Linked DNA regions of Homo sapiens: all the other regions are linked to region 2. Evidence: promoter capture Hi-C in 16 types of primary human blood cells and fetal thymus (Javierre and others, 2016). All regions are on one chromosome and are shown on one strand. The core of a region is centred on a gene start or on the middle of the fragment in contact, and the rest is flanking DNA. Distances in the headings are between cores, read along the strand shown.

Region 1 (2,700 bases), core at 123-2,622, 540 kb after region 2:
GTGAGTCCTCGGTCCACGTGGGCCGTTGCGCTGGTTCCCAGCCTGCCCGACACACTCACTGCGACGCCTCCCTTGCCTACTGCTTGCTGGCTTCTGTGTTCTCTGCAGTAAACATTGATTTCTGACTCGAGTGCTGTCTTCATTGAGCTCTCTGCACTCTGGGGATGCAGTCAGCGACCCCACGAAGGCTACCGGCTTCCTCCCAGGGAACAGTGCAGGTGCTGCTTCCCAGGACCACAGGACCCTGGCTGGTCGCTGCCTGTGATGGGTCTCCACAAGACCACTCCCCATTAGCCAGACTCACAGGAGACTGACACATAAATGAGAAAGTTGTTCACTAACTCACAATGGGAGCAACCCTTTGCAGTGCGGAAATGCTCTCAGCCTTTCTGGCCCCGGATACCTGGGAAGCTAAGGGTTCATTAGGTGGCCTAGTGCCTGCACTCAGGATGCCCCAGAGGAGGCCCCGGGGTTCCTGAACGCCTTCTTCAGGCCCTGTCTTCAGCCCTTCTCCAGGCCCTCTGAGTTCCAAACAGCACTCACTTTTGTCTGGTCCTCTGTTCCCCGGCTCGCACCTCCTTCGTCAGGGCAGTTGCTCTCAACCAGGGGTACTTCTGCCCCTGGGGCCCACTCGGCAATGTCCGGGACCGTGTTGGCGGTCACAGCTGGGCGGGGGCACCACCGGAATCTGGTGTGCAGAGGCGGGGGTCCTGCCCAGATGCCAGAGGTGCTGCAGGTGAGAGATACAGATTTAGACCCTGTGACGACAAAGAAAAGGACGGGAAAGGTGGCTCTCAAGGCCCCAGGGAACCGCCCAGAGACGCCTGGGGTTCCAGAAGCTGGAAAGGCATGGAGCGGTGCGGGAACAAGCCTCTGCGGTGGCTGGAGATGTGGGGATGGAGACTGGTCATGCCTTCACACACTTAACCAGAACCCTCCCAGCTCTCCCTCCCCTGCAACCAAGCCAGCAAGGCGACACGGTGGCTGGCGCTGGCGAGAGGCAAGTGTGCTTGACTGCCTTTCTCCACTCTTGAGGACAACACCCAGAGTGGCCCCGTCTTTGCCCCACCAGCCCAGGCCTAAAGCTTCCTCATCATCCGCATCCCGGCCTGGGACTTAGGCGGACTTCTGCCAGCTGTGTCACGTGCAGGGGACTGCAGCCACTGACCCCCTCTCCCTTCTGTCCTGCTCTTCTCTACCCCACAGCCCCAGGCAGATCTTCAGTGCATGTCAGCTCTCCTCCCTCCCTCCCTGCAGACCCCTGTGCCCCGCAGTGCCCTGAGAATGACGTCTGAGCCCCCAGTGGAGGTGTCAAGGCTGTTCGGTCTGTCCCCATCCCGTTCTGTCCTCCCCTTGCTCACCACACTCCCCTGCCTGGTCTTCCAAACTCGAACCCCAGGCAACTCCTTCAGGCATCAGACCTCTGCCCCTGCGCCCCTCCTGCCTCTCTGTGATGGGCTGGCCCTTCCCTTCTGCTGCCTCCCCTCCCTCCTTCCTGCTCCAACCCCTATCTCTCTCTGATGCTGCCCCTTAGAGAAGCCTTCTTGGACCTTAAGCCTGGCCACTCCTCTAAGCCCCTCATCTCCAGGTGTGGTCTAGGAAGTGCTCTCAGCCTCTCTACTCCAGTGGCTCGGGGTCTCTGACCAGCCCTCCTGCCAGGGAAGCTTTGAAGGTTCCCACAGGGACCCCTAGAGACAAGGGCACTGCCCGTCCAGATGGCACCCTCACCCCAACCCCAGCAGCACTGGCTGGAGCAGGCCATGCCTGTGTGGGTATCTGAACAGGCACTGGATTCCCCGATCTCAACAAAAGAAGCCCATGGAGGCCTTTTCTAATCCACAGTCCAAGAGGACAAATCAAGACAACAGGCTGGGGGGGCTGGCTGTGGGCCGACTCCCACGTCTTAGGACCAGGGGCTCTGGGGCTGTTTGGGCTGGAACCCCTCCTCCCAGCATAACAAACACTAGCTCATTATTTACAGTGAATACCCAACAAAACCCTGCTCGAGGTGAGGAGCGGGGACCTGCTGCTCCAACAGACCAGACTGGCTGCTGGCTCCGAGCTCATTAAATCAGCAACCTTTGCACTCCCTCCAAAGCCCTGCCCGTCACCTTCACACCTCCCTGGTGGGGGAAGGGGATTCTTCCACTCTGATTACACCCGTTCCCATCTCCCTTCACTCCTGTGAGCTGGCCAGGCTGAGGATTTGTCCAAAGGGCCTGGGGAGTGAGACGCTCCACAGCTTCTCATGGGTCAGCCGACATGGACGGTAGCTTGGGTGACTCAGCTTCCCGTGATGCGCTGGATGCACAGGGAGCTGGTGACAACAGCCTGTGTGTGTGACAGAACAGCCTGTGCGTGTGACAGGACGTCAAGAACTACATACAAAGACACAGCTGCCCCCAAAAATGAGTCTGCACAGCCTGGTGCAATGCAGCTGCAGCCTGTCATCGAGTCAATTGCATTGTCGTCCGCCGCTCTCCTGATGTAGTTCTGTGTTTGTCCATTTTGCACTGCTATAAAGGAATACCTGAGACTGGGTAAGTTGGTGAGCGCCTGTAGTCCCAGCTACTCAGGACGGTGAGGCAGGAGAATAGCATGAATCCGGGAGGCGGAGCTTGCAGTGAGCCAAGATCGCGCCACTGCACTCCAGCCTGGGCCACAGAGCGAGACTCCGTCTCAAAAAAAAAAAAAAGAAAA
Region 2 (2,700 bases), core at 201-2,700:
AGCACTGTAACATGTTCATGATGGCCATGATGCCCACGCTGGGAGGTTGTGGGTTTACCGGAATAAGGGCAAGGAACACCTGGCCCACCCAGGGCAGAAAACCGCTTAAAGGCGTTCTTAAACCACAAACAATAGCATGAGCCATCTGTGACTTAAGGACATGCCCCTGCTGCAGATAACTAGCCAAACCCACCCCTTTATTTTGGCCCATCCCTTTGTTTCCCTAAGGGGTACTTTTAATCTATAATCTGTAGAAACTGTGCTTATCACTGGCTTGCTGTGAATAAACACGTGGGTAAATCTCTGTTGGAGGCTCTCAGCTCTGAAGGCTGTGAGACGCCTGATTTCCCACTCCACACCTCTATATTTCTGTGTGTATCTTTAATTCCTCTAGCACCGCTGGGTTAGGGTCTCCAGGACCGAGCTGGTCTCGGCACTGGGGGAGCTGCCCTGATAGGTAGTGAGCTCCCTGTCCCTGGGGCTATCAAGCAGAGCCAGGTGCCGCCCCAGGGAGCTCCTTCTTTGAGGGCGGTCCAGAACCCTGGAACCCCAGCCCAGGCCCAGGCCTGAATCCGGAGCTTGTTTAACCCAGCAATTCCGGGACCCCATCCCCGGTCGCTGGCATCCGCTGTCATTCGAGAGCCTGGGGCTGACGGGGAGAGCTGGTCCGGCCTTCTCTGGGCCGCCTTTCCTCCCCAGCCTCGTCAGGAAGGGGCACAGGACAGCCGAGCTGTGCGACAGCCCGCTGGGCCTGCGCCCCAGGGCCTCCGGCGACACTTGGAGTCCGCAGCTGAGTCACTGACTCTCACCCGGGCTCCCCCGCTTCCGCCCGGCCGTGATTTGCTCCGGTTTCAAAAGGGAGGAAGGGCGGGAATGCTCGGGAAGAGCCTGGGGTTGGCAGGACCTTTAGGGGGTGGAATGAATGTCGTGAGGGCGAGTAAGGAGGTACCGGCTGGGGCTGAAAATGCGCACGGGGACCATGAGCGTGATTCGCCCTGAGCCGCTGCGAACGCCCTGCGAGCTGGGGTGGCCCTGGAGGTCCTGGAGCAGAAGCTAGGTTCCCGCAGAGTCCGCTGCAGCGCCGCTGGCGATCGGGCTGGGTCCCATTTTCCACGAAAAGTCCCGCGGCTTCGGCCGCGGAGGTGCTGGAGCCTTTGCGCTCAGACGAAGGGCCGAACGGCCAGGGCCAGGCCGCGTCTTCAGAGCCTGGCGAGGGTCTCGCGCTGCTGGGAAGGCGGAGACGCCGGGGCGCGCGTGCACCCTCGCGCCTGCAGCGCCGCGCACGGCCGCCAGGTGCCGCTGTGGCGCTCAGCGCGCCGCCCGCCCCGCCCCAGGGAACGCGAAAGTGGCGCGGGCCTGGACGGCGGGACGGACCACGTAGGGCGCTGAGAAGGTCGCGCCACGGTGGGCGGGGCTCCGGGCCCCTCCCCCTCGGCCGCCCTCGCGCTGTGGTTCGCTCCGGGCGCGCTGCGCTCGTGAGTTCCCAGGAGGCCTGGCGGGCACCGTAACCAGCGCCGCGGACACCGGCACCGGCGCCACGGACTCCGCAGGACCCCGCGCCCGCCGCCGCCGCTATGCTGGGGCTGCTGGTGGCGTTGCTGGCCCTGGGGCTCGCTGTCTTTGCGCTGCTGGACGTCTGGTACCTGGTGCGCCTTCCGTGCGCCGTGCTGCGCGCGCGCCTGCTGCAGCCGCGCGTCCGTGACCTGCTAGCTGAGCAGCGCTTCCCGGGCCGCGTGCTGCCCTCGGACTTGGACCTGCTGCTGCACATGAACAACGCGCGCTACCTGCGCGAGGCCGACTTTGCGCGCGTCGCGCACCTGACCCGCTGCGGGGTGCTCGGGGCGCTGAGGGAGTTGCGGGCGCACACGGTGCTGGCGGCCTCGTGCGCGCGCCACCGCCGCTCGCTGCGCCTGCTGGAGCCCTTCGAGGTGCGCACCCGCCTGCTGGGCTGGGACGACCGCGCGTTCTACCTGGAGGCGCGCTTTGTCAGCCTGCGGGACGGCTTCGTGTGCGCGCTGCTGCGCTTCCGGCAGCACCTGCTGGGCACCTCACCCGAGCGCGTCGTGCAGCACCTGTGCCAGCGCAGGGTGAGCGGCCCCCGCCCCTGGCCCCGGAGCACGGCCTTTGTGGGACCTCCGGGGGCTCCTCCTAGTCCCTGGCCCCCTCCCCTAGGGAAGGCCCGCTGCCTGCACCTCTTTCGGATACTGCTGGAGTCCTGCCTCTTACCGCTCCCGCCCCTCCCTCTCTACCGGGGGCATTCCTCACTGATGCCTTTGTTCGTGGGGGTTCCTAGGGTCCCCGAATCAACTCTTCATAGTCGGGCTTAGCGTGCTTCCCTCCTGCCATTTCTTAACCTGGCCCCTCACGGTTTCGTGTTCACCCCTCTCCTCTCTCCTGGTACTCTGTTCTGTGGCTGGAGTGTTGACCTCTCTGGTCCTTGGTCCTGAATATAGGTTGGAGAGGTGATCAGTTAGAAGAGGTTCCTAGGAGTTCCCGAGGACCTGAGCCCCCCTTTCACACAGCTTAGAGCTGAAGGGCTGGGTTCTGGTCACCTGGGTTTGGGGTTGAGGTATTGAGCCGAGTAGCTGAAAGCCTTCTGGCCTTTCTGCAGTTGGAGAGAGGAGGGCCATGCACCTCCCAGGGCTCGCTCCTCCCAGCAGGGCAGAACCGCCCCTGCAGCATGGCACCTGGGGCCCTGGG
Region 3 (2,747 bases), core at 215-2,714, 510 kb after region 2:
CTGCGTCTACACACCTGTCTCTGTGGGCTCTGTTCCTCTGATGCAACCCTGACGGATCCATTAGTATGACTGGAATGTCCTTGGGATCAAAACTCACTTTTTTTTCTTCTTTAGACAGAGTCTTGCTCTATCGCCCAGGCTGGAGTACAGTGGCACATTCTCAGCTCACTGCAACCTCGGCCTCCTGGGTTCAAGCGATTCTCCTGCCTCAGCCTCCCAAGTAGCTGGGATTAGAGGTGCCCGCCACCATGTCCGGCTAATTTTTTTTGTATTTTTAGTAGAGACGGGGTTTCGCCGTGTTGGTCAGGCTGGTCTCAAACTCCTGACCTCATCATCCACCTGCCTTGGCCTCCCAAAGTGCTGGGATTACAGGCGTGAGCCACCGCGCCCGACCGGAATCAAAACTTTCTAACTTCTAAAAGTTAGATTCTGGCTTCTAAAAGTGTGGCGCTGTTTTAGGATGGTTTTAGGATGGCTCAGTCCATCCAGTGGGAAGATTCTTTAAGCCCCTTGAACGTTTGGGCTGGAGAGAGAGTGAAATGAGGGCAGAGGTGCTGATTGGCCCCACACCAGTCACTGACAATGGCAGCTCCCGAGACGGCCATGGGTGCAGCCAGTGGGCACATTGCCCCCATTTTAAAATAACTTATAAATTACAAGCCAAGTTTAGCAAGTGGGTACTGCACTAAGGGCTTTGTGAGGACTTTTCACGTAGCCTTCACAATGACCCCACAGGGCAGGTGCTATCATCTTGCCCCATTTGACAGGAAATCTACTGACCATCCCAAGGCACACAGCCAGCAGTGGTGCTGATGTCCAGGCCCAGTGCTTTGACACTGTCGAGTTTCTTAAACCCTCTGAGCCTTCATTGTTTTATCTGCAAAGTGGAGACACCACCAGCAGTGAGTCAAGCACGAAACTAGGTGATTGATGCCTGTGCCCAGGATGCCGGGAGGATCTCAGCCACAGCTGTTGCCTGTGCCAGCCGCTGCGGAGAAGGATGCCACAGGCACAGGGCACCAGGGCGATGGGCTCTCCAGGGGCAGTGTCAGTGGCTCAGTCACCCACTGAGGCTGGTATCCCAGGCTCAATGCCCACAGGGGTTCCAGTGCAAGTCCTGGGCCCCAGGAGGACCCGCACCCCAGGGCTCATCAGTCAGCCAGTCAATCAGTCCACAGGCACTAGCTGAGCGCCCGCTGTCTGTGAAGCACCCTGGTGGAGCTGACGCTCTTATCCTTGGGCAGTAAAGAAGCGAACACTGCGGTTCAGGAGTTCAGCACAGCAGTCCTGGGGTCACTGCTAAGGTTCTCGTAGCCGCATTAAAAAGGGAAAAAGAAGCAAACGCAGGCCAGGCGCGGTGGCTCACGCCTGTAATCCCAGCACTTTGGGAGGCCGAGGTGGGTGGATCACCTGAGATTGGGAGTTCAAGACCAGCCTGACCAACATGGAGAAACCCCGTCTCTACTAAAAACACAAAATTATCTGGATGTGGTGGTGCGTGCCCGTAATCACAGCTACTTGGGAGGCTGAAGCAGGAGAATCTTTTGAACCCGGGAGGCGGAGGTTGCGGTGAGCCGAGATTGCACCACTGGACTCCAGCCTGGCGGACAAGAGCGAAAATCTGTCTCAAAAAAAAAAAAAGAAAAGAAAAGAAAACACAAAATCCCAGTGAGCTCTCTCTCCAGTGTCCTGCACAGACCTTCACAAAGTAAGGGCCACCCAGGAAAACTGCACAGAAGAGAGAAAAGGAACTGGCTGTGGGCCTGAGGTTGCTCTCAAAACATTTTCCAGAAAAAGAAAGTCCATCTGAGTGCCAAAATACAGAAAAGTGTCTACATTTTGGAAAGAAATTTAAAATGACTATGGAACAGGTGCAGCGGCTCACGACTGTAATCCCAACACTCTGGGAAGCTGAGGTGGGAGGACTGCTGGAGCCCAGGAGTTTTAGACCAGCTGAGGCAACAGAGTGAGACTTGGTAGCCAAAATAGTAAAAGACTGTGGGACACAGGAGGATAGTCTTGGGAAGGTAACGCAGGAGAGAAGAGGGTTAAAAGTTAGGGAGGAGTAGTCGGGTGCAGTGGCTCACCCCTGTAATCCCAGCAATTTGGAAGGCCAAGGTGGGTGGATCACCTGAGGTCACGAGTTCAAGACCAGCCTGGCCAACATGGTGAAAACCTGTCTCTACTAAAAATACAAAAAATTAGCTGGGCGTGGTAGTGGGTGCCTGTAATCCGAGCTACTCGGCAGGCTGAGGCAGGTGAATCACTTGAACCCAGGAGGCGGAGGTTGCAGTGAGCCCAGATTGTGCCATTGCACTCCAGCCTGGGCAACAAGAGTGAAACTCCGTCTCAAAAAAAAAAAAAGTTAGGGAGGTGCAGCCTTTGAAAGTCAGGTACTAAAGAGAAAAAGAAGCAAGAAGGGGAAATTAAGATGCTGAAAGACAAAAGACCTTTTTAAAAAGTCAAACATCGACCAGGCACAGTGGCTCACACCTGTAACCCAAGCACTTTGGGAGGCAGGGGCAGGCAGATCACGAGGTCAGGAGATCAAGACCATCCTGGCCAACATGGTGAAACCCCATCTCTACAAAAAATACAGAAATTAGCCGGGCACAGTAGTGCACGCCTGTAGTCCCAGCTACTTGGGAGGCTGAGGCAGGAGAATTCCTTGAACCCTGGAGGTGGAGACTACAGTGAGCCGAGATCACGCTGCTGCAGTCCAGACTGGGCGACAGAGCAAGACTCCA

What was found. The method cuts DNA at HindIII sites, captures the fragments that hold promoters and counts their contacts. A CHiCAGO score of 5 or more calls a contact.
Region 1: a contact is called between a fragment that was not itself captured here and the fragment with the promoter of THEM6 in region 2, in 1 of 17 cell types (neutrophils). The highest score is 9.2, in neutrophils.
Region 3: a contact is called between a fragment that was not itself captured here and the fragment with the promoter of THEM6 in region 2, in 1 of 17 cell types (neutrophils). The highest score is 5.8, in neutrophils.

Annotation. Positions count from the first base shown.
Region 1 is chr8:143,262,576-143,265,275 of GRCh38, forward strand. ZFP41 (ZFP41 zinc finger protein) reads left to right here. Exons shown (of 3, transcript NM_173832.6): 3 at 1-130. Among named protein-coding and RNA genes, the nearest start is that of GLI4, 3.5 kb to the right of the region's middle. The HindIII fragment of the contact is 579 bases long and covers 1,084-1,662 here.
Region 2 is chr8:142,725,773-142,728,472 of GRCh38, forward strand. THEM6 (thioesterase superfamily member 6) reads left to right here and starts at 1,451. Exons shown (of 2, transcript NM_016647.3): 1 at 1,451-2,087. The coding sequence starts at 1,575. It overlaps LNCOC1 (lncRNA associated with ovarian cancer 1), which reads right to left and starts at 1,201. Exons shown (of 3, transcript NR_038925.1): 1 at 950-1,201. RefSeq lists an enhancer at 957-1,176 and silencers at 1,207-1,646, 1,947-2,196. The HindIII fragment of the contact is 9,584 bases long and covers 1-2,700 here.
Region 3 is chr8:143,239,490-143,242,236 of GRCh38, forward strand. No RefSeq gene overlaps it. Among named protein-coding and RNA genes, the nearest start is that of ZFP41, 6.1 kb to the right of the region's middle. The HindIII fragment of the contact is 4,207 bases long and covers 1-2,747 here.